2 separate regions of the Homo sapiens genome follow, and region 2 is linked to region 1. The links are contacts of gene promoters, found by promoter capture Hi-C in human tissues and cell types (Jung and others, 2019). All regions are on one chromosome and are shown on one strand. Each heading gives the region's core, a stretch centred on a gene start or on the middle of the fragment in contact. The rest is flanking DNA. Distances are from core to core; before and after follow the strand shown.

The links. The method cuts DNA at HindIII sites, captures the fragments that hold promoters and counts their contacts. A contact is called where the count stands out against the background at its distance.
Region 2: the fragment with the promoter of MYPOP here is called in contact with the fragment with the promoter of CALM3 in region 1 in 1 of the 25 tissues and cell types used here (pancreas).

What each region holds. Positions count from the first base shown.
Region 1 is chr19:46,597,529-46,605,480 of GRCh38, reverse strand. CALM3 (calmodulin 3) reads right to left here and starts at 4,151. Exons shown (of 6, transcript NM_005184.4): 1 at 4,044-4,151. The coding sequence starts at 4,046. It also overlaps the pseudogene PPP5D1P. RefSeq lists enhancers at 2,589-2,658, 4,387-4,886 and a silencer at 4,117-4,256. The HindIII fragment of the contact is 7,591 bases long and covers 3,145-7,952 here.
Region 2 is chr19:45,898,826-45,906,777 of GRCh38, reverse strand. MYPOP (Myb related transcription factor, partner of profilin) reads left to right here and starts at 4,165. Exons shown (of 3, transcript NM_001012643.4): 1 at 4,165-4,208; 2 at 4,953-5,503. The coding sequence starts at 5,005. RefSeq lists silencers at 3,473-3,552, 4,113-4,162 and enhancers at 3,813-3,922, 4,353-4,402. The HindIII fragment of the contact is 9,891 bases long and covers 2,630-7,952 here.

The DNA.
Region 1 (7,952 bases), core at 2,902-5,401:
AGGCCTGGCACAGGTTTGCATCTCATCAGTGAGAGCCCCAGAGGCCGAGTGAAGGGAACGATTGCCCTGGAGGCCTCATCAAGAAGCTCTAGAAGGCTCCAAACTGAAGCAGGCCAGTCCTTGGGTAGGGCAGAGGGACGATGTCTGGGGCTATCTCTGCTAGTTTCTGTGTCACCTATTTGGAGGCGGTTGGCTCAGGCAGAGTCCACCCAAGTGGCAAAAATTCTCCTAACCGGCGGCCCGAGTTGCTCAAGCACCTAAAGAACTCTGGTCAGGCTGGAGGCAGGCGCTCCACCCCCTGCGCACAGTGAGGGCACAGGGCCATTCTGTTTTGTTTCTTTTGGGCAGAAGGGACAAACGTCAGGGAGAGGGCTGCAGCGGGCAGCAGCAGAGGACTGAAGCTGGCTTGCACTGCAGTTTTTAACCCTTTCCAGCTTGGGCACTCTGGGGACTGGCCAGTGGGTGGCAGGCAGCCCTTGCTGCATGCGGGGTTTGGGGGTGGGGAGGAGATGCGGGGACTGGCTTCTCCTGCACTGGTGTGCTGGGCATCAGCCAGGCATAGTGATCCTATGGGGCAGGAGCGGGGCTGGGGGGTTGGGGAGGCTGAATCCCAACATTTAGCTTTAGCAGCCAAAAGACACATTTTCCCTGGTTTTTGTTGATGCTGTGAAGAAGGCACCACCATCCCGGGACCATGGTGGGTCTGTTCCCCTTCCTTTCACAATCAGGGAAAGGGGCTCCAAGTCTATAGCATGTTCTAGTCTCGAGTCTGAGAGCCTCAGAAATAGAAGCAGACTATTATGTGAATTTGCAGTATTCTACGGAGAGGTTCCAGAAGCTAGGAACAAACCACTGCCTGCCTCCCCTACCCCCATCCCCGTCCCAAATATTAACAATCACTGATCTAAAAAAGTTAGAAAAAAAAAAAAAAAACCTAACGGAAGAAGAACTTGCAAGCCCCAAATAGGCAGAATGGGAGGGGTAATCAAAATGATGATCACAGAGGGGAGAGGGCTTAGGGAGGGGGAAAGAGGAAGGGAGAAAACGGCACACATGCACATTCTGGAAAAGTCCAAAGTGTAAAGGGGAGGTGGGGAGGCCAAATGAAGATTCTTCTGCATTGCCTTCAAAAAAGACAGGGTGGTTGGGCTTCTAAATGCCAACCTGGTAGCCCCAGGCCCATGAGCCTCTTGATCCACCTGCCCCCCACCTCCCACCATGGACAAAAAAGCCTGGAGCCATCCCTTAGGTCCTGACACCTGAGGAAGAGGCTTAGGGAAAGTGAGAAGGGAGGATGGGCTTCTGGTTACCGAGACCAGGCAATGCCCAGGGAGGGTCAGGGAAAGAACAGAGAGGAGGGCAGCAGTGTGGGGAGGTGGCTGCCATCCCATCTGCTTTTCATTCTTTCCCCTGGCCTAGAATGGAAAAAGCGAGCCAGGTCAGGGCCTTCCCAGCCCACTGTTCCGCCCTGCAAGAAGTCCAGCTCCCCGGACCTTTGGGCAGCACTGTAAGGGGCTGGGGGTGGGGGCGAGGAGGCTGTGACAGGCTGCAGACTGCCCCGAGCGGCTCTGAAGGCCACCGTTTGCCAGTCTCCACCAAAAGACTGGAAGATGCAGATGAGGCACTGCCATGTTCAGTTCTGTCACAGGGTTGCTGCAAATAGGCGTGGCTCTGCATGGAGGGCCTGTCAGATGCTCTCCCTCCCATGTTGGAGACCCACTTCCCTGCTTGGTCAAGGAAAGGTACAGATCTCAAGCAAGGTTGCCGCCCAGAAAACCGACCGCCTAAGAAGATATCATTGATCCTTGCTCAAGGTTTCTTCCCTTTCTAGACCTGAAGACTAAACTTTCAACAAAAACTGTTTCCAAAATAACTCAGCTGGTCTCCTGCTTCCTTATCCCTCATCTTAGGCTCCAGCAAGGGGCTGGACAAGAAAAAAAACCATGAGGTGGGGGAGGGAAGAGGGTGTGATTTCTCTGCCTTGCCCCAGCCCCCAGCCAATGCCAGAGAGCAGTGTTAGATGAGATCAGAAACCAAGGCCAGGGCCCCTCACCCGGGCCAAGGAGGAGCCACAGAGCTCAGGCCAAAGTCCAAGGCCAGTTACCAGTGACTTGTCCCACCTCTACCTTGCTGATTACAAACAGAAAGAGAAACTAGTTGTGGCCAAAGCTTGGGTCCTATTCTGGAGGTAGGGGGCCTGCTAGTGCTTCAGGGCCCCTTTTAGCCAGGTTCTGCTGGGGGAAAATGGGGTAGCGGCAAGAGGAGCCATCAGGTCTGTGTCAGCAAGTATGAGATCTGATACACAGCAGCGGCTGCCTGTTCTCCCCAGCCTTGCCAGGGAGGATGGCTGCACACGGTTCCCAGGCTCAGCCTGGTGGGGCTGTGGGTGTTGTGGGTGGCAGGGAGTAGGAAAGAACTAGTCTGCTGGTTTTCTCTCAAAGCCCTGTGAATTAACAGACACGCTCAGCGAGGGCCCTGAATGGAACAAGTGGCCCTCAGGCCGATCAAGGGGTCTCCCCAGAGGCACTCTCTGATCAAGCTCTGCAGCCCCCACCCCGAGGGCACGGGAATAGGCATCTGATTGTCACTGACGCCACACTGTACTGCACTGTCATTTGGCACAAGTGACGAGGTGCAGCATGGTGCGTGGGGCTGGGGATCATGAGAAAACCGGCGCTCCTGCTGGGAAAAGGCAGTGCTCTTGGCCTGAAAAGGGCAGCGACAGAGTGAGGCTTCTAGGCTTGAAAAAGCTGGCTCATTCGAGGCACCCCAAACTTTGATCTCCCATCCCCATTTCATGAGGCTTCAGTGCGCAATAGGGGCCCGAACAGCTCCGCCCACCTGCTCCCACTGCCCCGGTGTCTTCCACCCAGCCGCGTTCTTCCTGAGGAAGGAGGACGGTAGAAAAGCTTCCTCCGGGCCCTGCAGCCCACTCCCCATCCACACTGAGCCGTCTTTGTCCTGGCCTGTCCCTGGAGACTGGCAGGGTGCTACCCACATCCACCCCCAAACCTAGGCCCCCCTGACTGCCATTCATTTTCTCCTTCCACCTCACCTCCCAACCACCCAAGCCCAAGTCCTCCCCCACCCCTCACCTTGGAAATCCATCTTCTCTTGGACCCAAACACAACACTCCCACCCCGTTAAAAAAATTCTGTCTTTCTAGAGCAACAGTCTTAACCCACTAGTAACCTCGGAACCTTTTCTAGCTACTTCCAAATTAACCCCAAGGGTCCCTGTCCCCCGACTACTGGCGAGCCCCACTCTCACCATCCCTTTTCACCACCTCCACGACCCTGATCCTTCTCCGTCCCGGAAGCCTTCAAGAGTATCTTCTAATCTCCGCTGCCACCCACCCCAGGCTCTTCCTCCCATAAGCTTGCACCTCACCCTCCTCCTCCTCTGCAGTGCTGGGCTCTGGAGACCACCCTCCCCCACCCTCCCCCACCCTCGGGAGTCTCATCTGTAGAAGTGACCGCCCATCCTTGACCCTCTCCTCTGCTCCACAGGAGCCCAGGGGTCGCCCCTCCCCGCCCGGGCCCAGCTACCCTCCACCACCCCATCCAGGAGCAGCCCAGCCTCCCTTCGTCCCCCGTTCCCCGCATCCTCTCAGGACCAAACGCCTTCATCAGGGCCCGAATAGCTCCCCTCCCCAGCCCATCTTTCTTATTTCGTCCCCTGGGGTCCAAACACCTCCATCCTGAAACCCAACGCCCCATCCTGGGTCCAAAATCCTTTTGAGGGGTCCCACTGAGGGTCCCGATCCTCCATCCGGGGTTCAAATGTCCCCTTTAGGGGCTCAGATACCCATTTGTGGACTTAAACATCCCATTTGGTGCTAAAGTCGCTTCTGGAAACCTCTGGTGATCCAGACGTCCCGCTCTGGGTTCAACAGCCCCCGACAACGCGGGTAGAAAAGGGTCCCGAGGCTCTCGCCGGGCCCGGACGCCCCCCACTCTGGGCTCTGTCGCCCCCTCAGGGGTCCTGCCCCGTTAAGCCCGCCTCAGAGCCCGCAGCCTCGGCGACCCCCCAGCCTCACTCACCATGGCGAGGCCCGGGGTGTCCGGAGCACGGGGATCAAGGTTCCTCCGGCGGCGGCAGCAGCTGCAGCAGTTCCAGCTCCGCCGCGCGTCCGCGCCTCCACACTCACTGCCCGCAGCGCGCGCCGCCGCCGCCGCCGCCTCCCGCCCCAACGGTCCCTCAACGGCCGCCGCGCGCGCCCCGCCTCGCTCGGCCCCGCCCCACCCGGCCCGCGCGCCGCCGCACTGCGGCTCCCACGGATCCCTCCGCGCCCCGCTCCACACCTACGGGCCCGCGAATCTCTCGTCCCCACCCTGCACAGGAATTGGGTTTGCCGCCGGGCGCGCGCGCGCTCGCTCCCGTCGCCGGACTACTTTCCCTCGCCGCGCGCCCCGCCTCCCGGGCCCACTTCACTTTCTTCGGCGGAGGGGCACAGCTCGGCGGTGCGTGACGCGTCCCTCTGTGAGCCGCGTCACTATTGGGCCTGGCCCATGGCGGAAATGAGAGCTTGGCGCCCATTGGTCCGACCTTCCCTGCAATGCGTCAAACTGGGGCGAGCCACTGCAAGGTGGTGGTGGGTAAGTCTGAACTCTGTGGCCGCGTGGGGCTTTGAGGAGTAACGAGGCGAAGGGGGAAACGGCGTCGCCGTTAGAGAAGCAAATACGTCGTTTCTGTGGCCAGGAGGTGGTAAAAAGGCTGGCGACAAATGCAGAAGGGCTTTCTCGGCTCTCCCCTTTAACCGACGGACGATGGTTCAATCCAAAATGCTAGGGTTTAGAAGCTCCGCCCCTAACTGGGCCTTTGGAGGTGGCGGGGTCTCCAAGGTGCCACCTAACGCTCAGAGGTTCCGCCCTCCGTGGTCTTGTCTCTGCGTCCTAAGACGCACTCAGCCGGTGGGCGGGACCCCTGGGCCCGCTTCATTCTTGATCCGCTCAGGGTCTGTGAAATTAGGACCATCCCAGGACAGCCTGTGGGAACGGGGTATTCATTCAGTCATTCGTGCTATAAGCATCAATTAGGCGCCTGCTGTATGCAGGGACCTGAGCTTGGCTGGGCTGGGGAGACCATACTCCCCAACCAGCCTCTCCAGACAGACGACCTCTTTCCTTATTCCAGTGTTCCAGCCATAGGAGGAAAAAGAACTGAAACTTTGTTTATAGGAGCTCAGAAAATGATCACCCCTGCCCCCTCCCCCGTTTAGGATAGGAGCTGACAGTCTCCTGCGTGTCCCCTCCCCACCATGTTGATGGTTAAGAGATGGGCAAACGAGTCAGGCTGGACCAATCATTATGCTCCACCTGGAACAGAATGGAGACTGAACCAATGAGAGTCCTTCCCTGGGGTTTGGATCTGCAGCCTGGGCACAAGAAGCCTTTTCCTTTTGGGTGGGTCCTTCCCATAGATTCTGACTATGGTCATTTTCCCACTCTGCCCCCTATCTTGAGGAACAAAGTGTCTAGAGAAGAAGAGAAAAATAAAACTGACACAGTGGAGAGGTAAAGAAGATGGCCGGGCGCGGTGGCTCATGCCTTTAATCCTAACACTTGTTACTCAGTCTCAAATCTCATGTTAAAATGTGATCACCAATGTTGGAGGTGGGGCCTGGTGGGAGGTGTTTGGGTCATAGGGGTGGATCCCTCATGAATGACTTGGTGCTGTCCTCACGGTAACAAGTGAGTTCTTATTCTGTTAGTTCACACAAGATCTGTATTTTTTTTGAGACGGAGTCTTGCTCTGTCACATAGGCTAGAGTGCAGTGGCATGATCTTGGCTCACTACAACCTCCGCCTCCCAGGTTTAAGCGATTCTCCTGCCTCAGCCTCCCAAGTAGTTGGGACTACAGGCACCCACCACTACACTTGGCTAATTTTTGTATTTTTAGTAAAGACAGGGTTTCACCATGTTGGCCAGGCTGGTCTCAAACTCTTGAGCTCAAGTGATCCGCCTGCCTTGGCCTCCCAAAGTGCTGTAATCACAAGAATACAACCATCAGGAGTGCCTCAAGGGAGAAATATCCTCTGAGAATAGCCACAGACAAAGTGGGGAGGTGGGACTACCATCCCCAGCCCTGGAAACTCTCTCTACTCTATAACTTGGCCAAAGGAGATGCCAAATCAGAGTGGCTGTTCGTTAGCACCATGCTGTGGGAGGTTTCTTCCATAGCTCCCCTGGGAATGAACCCCTAGCCAGCTTTCCTATGCTACTGGGATATCCCCTTTGGGACCTCCCCCATTCGGGATGGGAGACGCTCTGATCTTTAATAGAGCCAAGGCAAACCTGGTTTTAAGGTGCCACTGAGTGCTAAAAAGGAGGCAGCAACCTAGCAGAAAAAAAGAAACCAACAGGTCAATTACGAAGAATCTGTAAGCAAATGGAGCCAGTAAAAGCCAAAACAAGCCAGACGGAGAAGGCTGGAATAAGTGACTAATCCTTCAGTGCAAAGGCATAGATGTACATTAACAACAAACCAAAGCAAACAGGGAACCATGAGCTCCCCAAATGGACCAAGTAAGGGACCAGTGACTAAACCTAACAAGACAGTAATATGTGAGCTTTCTAAGAATTCAAAATGGCATTTTTAAGGAAACTCAGTGAATTCCAAGACGACATAGAAAAGCAACGCAGAAATTTATCAGTGAAATTTAACAAAGAGATTGAAATAATAATTTAAAAAAAACCCAAACAAATCTTAGAACTGAGAAATACATTTGCTGAACTGAAAAGTTCATTAGAGGTTCTCAACAGCAGAGTGGGTCAAGCAGAGGAAACAATCAGTGAACTTGGAGACGGGCTGTTTGTAAATACATACAGAAGAAAAAAGAAAAAAGAATGAAAGGAATGGAAATCACCTACGAAATATAGAAGACAAAATCTAAGAATTATTGGTGTTCAAGAGGGAGCTGAGGAGGAGCAAGGGGATAGAAAGGATATTCAAAGAAACAATGGAAGACATTCAAAAATTGCAAATATCCAGGTACAGAAAGGCCAGAGAACACCAAATAGATTTGATTACCCCAAGGCATATAATAATCAAACTCTCAAAGGTCAAGAACAAAGAGAGGATCCTAGAAACAGTAAGAGAAAAGAAGGAAATAACACTTAAAAGAGCTCTAATTTACCTGGCCACAGACTTCTCAATCAAAACCATGAAGGCCATACAAGAATACTGTATCAAGCAAAGCTATTATTCAAATATGAAGAAGAGATAAAGTTTTTCCCAAATAAAAGCAGAGAGAATTCACCACTACCAGATCTGTATTATAAGAAATGCTCTCTTGAAGAAAGACAGTTCCAGAGAGTTCCTCAATCCGGAAAAAAAAAAAACCATGCAAAAAGAAAAAAAATTTTTTTTGAGACACGATCTTGCTCTATCACCCAGGATGGAGTGCAGTGGCCCAATCATAGCTTACTGCAGCCTCAAACTGCCAGGCTCCAGTGATCCTCCCACCTCAGCCTCCTGAGTAGCTGGGACTACAGGTGCACACCACCATGCCTGGCTAATTTTTGTATTTTCTTTCTGGTAGAGATGGGGTTTTGCCATGTTGCCCAGGCTGGTCTCGAATTCCTGAGCTCAAGCAGTCTTCCCCCATTGGCCTCCTAAAGTGTTGGGATTACAGGTGTGAGCCATCATTCCTGGCCAAAGAAAATATTTGAAGGTATAAAACCCATTGGTAAAATTAGGTGCACAGAGAAACCCAGGATACTCCAATACTGTAATTGTGGTATGCAATTCATTCTTAACTCTACCATAAAGCCTCAAAGACAAATCTATCAAAAACAATAATATTGAGCTGGGTGTAGTCTCAGCTACTTGGGAGGCTGAGGCAGGAGGATCACTTGAACCTAGGAGTTTGAGGCCAGTCTGAGCAACACAGTAAGACCCCATAATTAAAACAATAATAGCTATAGCAGCTTGTTAAAAGACAAGCAAA
Region 2 (7,952 bases), core at 2,916-5,415, 700 kb after region 1:
CTCCAGGGCCAGAGATCTAGGCTTTTTCCCTCACCCCTCACAGCCCATCAGGTTCCAAGTCCTGTCCATTCTTCCTCCTAAATATCTCTCCTTGCAACTTCCTAAGTATTTTCCTGGACTCACTAATGGGTCAAGATTCACAGTTTTGGCTGGACTCAGTGGCTCACGCCTGTAATCCCAACACTCTTGGAGGCTGAGGCCTCACAGAGGATTGCTCAAGCCCAGGAATTTGGGACCAGCCTAGGCAACACAGTGGGATCTTGTCTCTACAAAAAATTTTAAAACTTAGCCGGGCATGATGGTGTGTGCCTGTAGTTCCAGCTACTCTAGAGGCTGAGGTGGGAGGGTGAGCCTGGAAGTTTGAGTCATGATTGCATGATTGTACCACTGCACTCCAGTCTGGGTCATAGAGCAAGTCTCTGTCTCAAAAAAAAAAAAAAAAAAGGACTCACAACTCACAGTTTTGAAAATGTGGCCCTTCGCCAGGCACAGTGGCTCATGCCTATAATCCTAGCACTTTGGGAGGACAAGGCAGGTGGATCATCTGAGGTCAGGTGTTTGAGACCAGCCTGGCCAACACGGGTGAAATCCCATCTCTACTAAAAAAAAAACAAAAATTAGCCAAGTGTGGTGGCGTGCCCCTGTAGTCCCAGGTACTCAGGAGGCTGAGACAGGAGAATCGCTTGAACCAGGGAGGCAGAGGTTGCTGTGAGCCGAGATCGCACCATTGCTCTCCAGCCTGGGCGACAAGAGCAAAACTCCATCAAGAAAAGAAAAGAGGCAAGACAAGAAAGAAAATGTGGCCCTAGAAAGCCTTCCCTGACCCACCCTCACCCCAGGAGTCTTGCCCTCTGACTTCCTGCATCCAGCTTCCAGCTACCCACATCTGTGGAGCTCCATACCCCACTGCTGTGGCTCTCCACCTCCCACCGCCTCGTGAACCCAGAGCCAGGTTTAGACTCAACTCTCTGCCTGGACTGCCATGGAGGCAGCAGCTCCCTGAATGCAGCTCCCCGAATGCCTTCCCGGGGTCCCCAGTGCATTTGTTTCCTGTGGCTGCCATGACAAGGTACCGCAAACTGGGTGGTTTAAAACGAGAAACGTGGCTAGGCACGGTGGCTCACACCTGTAATCCTAGCACTTTGGGAGGCCGAGACAGGCGGATCACCTGAGGTAAGGAGTTCAAGACCAGCCTGGCCAACACTGTGAAACCCCGTCTCTACTAAAAATACAAAAATTAGCTGGGCATGGTGGCATGCGCCTGTAATCCCAGTTACCCGGGAGACTGAGGCAGGAGAATCACTGGAATCCGGGAGGCAGAGGCTGCAGCGAGCCGAGATCGTGCCACTGTACTCCAGCCTGGGCAACAGAGCAAGACTCCATTTCAAAAAAAAAAAAAAAACAGAGAGAGAGAAACGTATTGTCTCCCAGATTCACCAGGCTGAAAATCCGAAATCAAGGCATGGGCGTGGCCTCACTCCGGACAAGGCTCCAGCGGGTGATCTTTCCTGGCTTCTTCCAGCTTCTGATAGCACAGGGCCTTCCTGGGCTTGTGGCTGCGTCACCCCCGTCTCCACTTCTGTCACCATAGAATTGTCTTCCCTGTGTGTCTCCTCTTCTTATAAAGACACCGGGAATGAGGAATGACGGGTCCACCCTACACTGGTATGGCTACCTCTCAACGAATTCCCTCTCCAAGGACCCTATTTCCAAATAAGGTCACATTCTGAAGCACTGGGGGATCAGGACTTCAGCCTCTCTTTTTGGGGGAAACAGTTCAACCTGTTGGTCACTTTACACTCACGTATCTTTTTTTGATTGTGTTTTTTTTGTTGTTGTTCTTATTTTTTTAATTTAATTTTTTTTTGAGGCAGAGTCTCACGCTGTCCCCCAGGCTGGAATGCAGTGGCGCAGTCTCAGCTCACTGCAAGCTCAGCCTCCCGGGTTCATGCCATTCTCCTGCCTCAGCCTCCCGAGTAGCTGGGACTTCAGGCGCCTGCCACCACTCCCGGCTAATTTTTTGTATTTTTAGTAGAGACGGGGTTTCACCATGTTAGTCAGGATGGTCTCAATCTCCTGACCTCGTGATCCACCTGCCTCGGCCTCCCAAAGTGCTGGGATTACAGGAATGAGCCACTGCGCCCGGCCTTTTTTTTAATTTTTTTGAGACAGAGTCTCACTCTGTCGCCCAGGCTGGAGTGCAGTGGTGAGATCTCGGTTCCCTGCAATCTGTGCCTCCTAGGCTCAAGAGATTCTCCTGCCTCAGCCTCCCGAGTAGCTAGGATTACAGGCACATGGCACAACACCCAGCTATTTTTTTTTTTTTTGAATTTTTAATAGAGACAGGGTTCCACCATGTTGGCCAGGCTGGTCTCGAACTCCTGACCTCAGATGATCCACCTGTCTCAGCCTCCCAAAGTGTTGGGATTACAGGCGTGAGCCACTGCACCCAGCCTTACATTCACCACATCTTACCTGACCCCACACCCCCAAGTGAGAACCTGGGCCAGAGACTTGGGTTTCACCTAGACATCTTCCTTTCCCTCGCTAGCGCGACACTCACCATGCTTTCCATATATTCTCTCAAATGTCTCTCCGTGTCCCCCTTGACACTGTCCCTGTCTTAGTTTAGTCTCCCCTCGCTTTCCTAATCCTTTTCTTACCCCTGCTCATGACTTTTTTTGACTCTACCCAGTAGTCTTGCTCCCTCCCACCCACCCTCCACACAGCAGGCAGAGGGGCCTTTTTTTTCTCTCTCTCTTCTTTTGAGACAGGGTCTTACTCTGTTGCCCAAGCTGGAGAGCAGTGGCCTGATCATAGCTCACTGCAGCCTGCAACTCCTGGGCTCAAGCGATCCTCCCGCCTCAGCCTCCCAAGTAGCTGGGACTACAGGCATGTATTTTTTTTTTTTTTTTTTTTGAGACGGAGTCTCACTCTGTCGTCCAGGTGGAGTGCAGTGGTGCAATCTCAGCTCACTGCAACCTCTGCCTCCCGGGGTTAAGCGATTCTCGTGCCTCAGCCTCCCGAGTAGCTGGGATTACAGGCATGCACCACCATGCCCAGCTAGTTTTTGTATTTTCAGTAGAGATGGGGTTTCACTGTGTTGGCCAGGCTTGTCTCGAACCCCTGACCTCAGGTAATCCGCCCGCCTTGGCTTCCCAAAGTGCTGGGATTACAGGCGTGAGCTCCACCGCGCCCGGCCCAGGCTACGGATTTTAGCTTTTATGTTCATTGTACCAGGAACTGTGTAAGTGCTCATGTATATTTATTGAGTCGATGAATGAAGCACCAATTGTCGAATGACCTTGAGGACTCCTGCAGGATGCTAACGAACACACTTCTCAGCCGGACTGAGCTCCATCATCCTGCCATGCGGCTCACCCCACCTGCGTTCTGGCTTCATTCCTGTCTCCATGCACTTGCTTAAAGTCGTGCCGGCGTCAGGATCTCCCTTCCTACCAGCCAGGAAGCTCTTCCCTCTTATTTTCCCCGCTCCTCGAGGTAAAGGTGCGCACAGAGGGGCCCCCAAGGCGTGACTGGAAGGCTTGTGGGTCGCTATGGTTACTGCATCCGCCCGGGGCGGGACATCCCCAGGACGCCCAGCCTCTAGGGGTGCGAGGTGGGAAGCTCTGGAGCGGCCCAGCGCAGGGGCGGGCAAGCCAGGAGGCAAAGCGGTTTCCTCACGCCTCCACCCCACCCACACAGTTGTCAAGGAGACAAAGCGCTTCCCTTCAGCGCTGTCTCCCTCCCCTTTGGTTAGAGGGCAGGGTGGGCTGGAAGACTGTCCGAAAGGTTGGGTACTGGCGCGCTCCCAGCATCTCTCCCATCCAAGCTCGCAACGCCTGCGCCGAGACCCGGTACCGGGTACAACCCGAGGCACGCGCATGCGCGCGATGGAGTTTTTGCGCGTGCGCCGTTGTGGCCCCAGGAAGCTGGGGTACCCGCGCGGCGCTAACGTTGCGGCTGCGCAGTTGCGGCCTGCTGGTGGGGCTCGGCGGAGCGCAGTTCTGCGCCTGCGCTGTGCTGGGGTAGGTGGGAATGAAACCCTGGCGGTAAGGGCATTGGGGCCGACTGGCCCTGGGCGCGCCTGCGCCTTGGCATGCGGGGCGGCCGGAGGCGGGGCCGAAAGAGGGGAGGGAGGGAGGCGGGGGGTGGGAACAGGCCGCAGAAGCCCGAGCCCTGACCCACCGGCGGCTGCGGCGGAGCCGGTGAGTGACCCGTGGCCCGACTCGGTCCCCACCCTCCGCGACCTTCGCTCTCCCTGCCGTCCCCCGTAGCCTCCGTTGTCTCCTTGTGATACGGGACCCCCGTTATTTCCAGAGCTCCCCTTAATTTCTGGCAATCCCCAGAGCCCCCACAATCCTCGCAGACCCTGATCCCTAATATTTGATCGTTCCAGCTCTTCCAGTGATACAGGAGCTCCCACCTCACCATTATTCCTGGACATCCCTCTAAGGGCCCTTCTCATATCGGTCTTACAGACGCCCCGTTGCCCCCTAGAGCCCCTAGAGCGCCTCCTCTGCTCCAGATTCCCCCCTTCTTGCTGCATCCCCCCTTCCGCATCTCCTTATCTTCATGCATCTAAGACCCCCCCGAGGCACCCCCATCCTCCCTCCATTTCCTATCCTCCCGTGCCCCCATTCTCTAACTCCTGCAGACACCTCCTCTCCTCGCACTTTTCCTCCTTTCCTTCCATCCCTCCAGACCCTCCCCCAATTTCTATCAACTCTTCAGCGTGGCACTTCGCGCCGCGCGAAGTCCGAGCCAAGCGCTCAGCCGGTGTCAGCTACTCTTAGGCGCTTCCGACTTACCCGGGTGCCCGTCGCCCCCGCCCGCCCCCCGCCCCCACTCCTGCCCCCGGGGACTAAGGAGCTCTCGGCCCGGCGGTCTGGGAGAGGCGGCGGCGGGGGGACCCCGAACCCCAGCCAGCCCCGTGCGCCCTTTGCCCGCAGCGCCGGCGCCCCCCATGCGCCAGACGGCAGGACGGCGGCGTCGGGGGGCGCCATGGCCTCGGCGGCGGCGGGCGAAGCGGAGGAAACCACCCGGTTGCGCAAGCCGCGCTTCTCATTCGAAGAGAACCAGATCCTGATCCGCGAGGTGCGCGCCCACTACCCGCAGCTCTACGGCGCGCAGAGCCGTCGGGTGAGCGTGGCAGAGCGGCGGCGCGTGTGGGACGGCATCGCCGCCAAGATCAACGGTATCACCAGCTGGAAGCGCACGGGCCAGGAGGTGCAGAAGCGCTGGAACGACTTCAAGCGCCGCACCAAGGAGAAGCTCGCTCGCGTGCCGCACTCCACGCAGGGCGCCGGGCCCGCCGCGGAGGACGCTTTCTCCGCGGAAGAGGAGACCATTTTTGCCATCCTGGGGCCAGGTGTGGCGGCGCCGGGGGCAGGTGCTGGGGCGGAGGAGCCCCCTGCGGCCCCCTCTTCACAGCCGCCGCCCCCAAGCGCCTGCCCTCAGCGCTACGTGTTGTCGGAAGACCGCCGGGAGGACCGACGTGCAGGTGAGTGTCTTCAGAGTAGGCTGTGTGCCTGCGCTGTTGCAAGCCTTTTACATGTCTCATCAAAGCCTTGCTGCAGCCCTGTGAGGTGGATGCTGTCCTTCGCCCCATTTTATAGCTAGGGAAACTGAAGCTCAGAAAAATGAAATGACTTGCCTCAGTTCCGATAGCTAGTAACTGTCAAGAGCCAGGAATGGAACCAGATTTAGGAGGCCTGACTCAGGTCCACACCTGGGGTCATCAGCACAGGCAGGATTTCATTAAATGCAGTGTCGAGTAGTGACTCTGGAGGCAGGCTGCCTGGGCTCCGATCACAACTTTGCCACTGAACTGTGTCATCTGAGTAAGTTACTGTACTTCAGTTGCTGCATCTGTAAAATGGAGATAAAAATAGTCTGCACCTCAAAGCGTTGCTGTGAAGATTAAATGAGCTAATATGGGTAAGTTGCTTAGTTCAGCACCTCCTCAACTCTCATTGTTAGTTCTTGATAGAATCATCAATGCGGTAAGATGCATACTATTTCACTATTTCATAAATAAAAGACTCAGACATGTTTGGTAATTTTCCCAAGGTCATGCCTTGGATAGAGGTGTGGAGAGCTGACTACAGAAACTTCCTGCTTAGCCTTGATTCTGGATTATTTCTTCTACAGCCGTTCCCTGAGCACCTGCCCCATGCTCGATGAGGTTGGGGACACATGGATGACTGAGCCAGTCTAGTAGGGGGGTGGGGAAGACGGTGATGACTTGAGGGAGCAGGGCTGGGGTAGGGGATCCCAGGGACTGTGGGAGCCCAGAGAGGGTTTCTGATTTCGGTGGGGGGGGGGGTGGTCCAGGAGGGCTTCCTGGAGGAGGGGACATCAGAGCTGAGATGCAAAGAGTAAGAATGAAGAACTGGGAAAGTATTTTTGGTAGAGGGAACAGCATGTACAATGGCTTGGAGGCAAGAAAGCTTGGCCAGTTTGGGAAACTAAAAGAAGTTGCGGGGAAAAGAGTGTAGAGTGGAAAGGTTGAAGAAAAGTAACATTTTGAGATGAGTTCAGAGAGGTCAGCAAAGGCCAGACCATACTGGGCCTTTAGGCCAAGGTGAGGAGTTTGGATTTTATCCTGACTGCTATGAGAAGCCACTGAAGAGTTTGGAGAAGGGGAGGAACATGGGCATGATCAAACAAGACAGTTCAAGATTATGTGATTCAGAGAGGTTCATTCACCCACCCAAGGTCACACAGCAAGTAAGTGACAGAGTCAGGACTCAAGCATAAGTGTGCGTCCAACCCCCAGTCCATGGCACTTAACCACTGAGCAAGATTGCCCAGCAATAACAAGAGTTAATATTGACCAGGAGTTAATGAGTGTGCCAGAATTAGATTACACGTGGCTTGGAAGTCAAGGTCAGGAATTTGGACTTACTATTTTTTTTGTTTTGTTTTTTGTTTTGAGACGGAGTCTTGCTCTGTTGCCCAGGCTGGAGTGCAGTGGCGAAATCTTGGCTTGCTGCAACCTCCGCCTCCCCAGGTTCAAGTGATTCTCCTGCCTCAGCCTCCTGAGTAGCTGGGATTACAGGTGCCTGCCACCATGCCCAGGTAATTTTTGTATTTTTAGTAGAGATGGGATTTCACCATGTTGACCAGGCTGGTCTGGAACTCCCGACCTCAGGTGATCCACCCACCTCGGCCTCCCAAAGTGCTGGGATTACAGGCCTGAGCCACCACGCCCGGCCTGGACTTGCTCTTGAGGGCATTCAGGAGGCATGAAAATCTCCTAAGCAGGAAGGTGACACAATCACATGGGACCCTTGTTCTCAAACCTTGAATCAAACCTCAGTGTTTCCATCTGTGAGATGGCCCCATAGGACCAGAGCAGAGATGGCCAACTTATTTTTTCAGAAACTTGTTACCACTTCATTCACTCGTTTAGCAAATATATATTGAGAACCTCATCCAAGGCAGACGCTGTGGTAGGTGCAGGGAATAATGTAGAGAAAAAGACAAAATCCCCTTCCCTTATGGAACCGACATTCTTTTTTTGTTTGCTTGTTTGTTTGTTTGTTTGAGACTGAGTTTTGCTCTTATTGCCCAGGCTAGAGTGAAATGGCGCAATCTCGGCTCACCGCAACCTCCGCCTCCCAGGTTCAAGCAATTCTCCTGCCTCATCCTCCCGAGTAGCCGAGATTACAGGCATGCGCCACCATGCCTGGCTAATTTTGTATTTTTAGTAGAGATGGGGTTTCTCCATGTTGGTCAGGCTGGTCTCGAACTCCCGACCTCAGGTGATCTGCCCGCCTTGGCCACCCAAAGTGCTGGGATTACAGGCGTGAGCCACCACACCCGACCTGGAGCTGACATTCTATGTAGTTGGAGGAAACAGACCACAAAGAAGTCCCAAAACAGACTGTATACCAGGAGGTGGTGAGAACTAAGAGGATAAATAAGTCATATTCAGAGGATGGTGA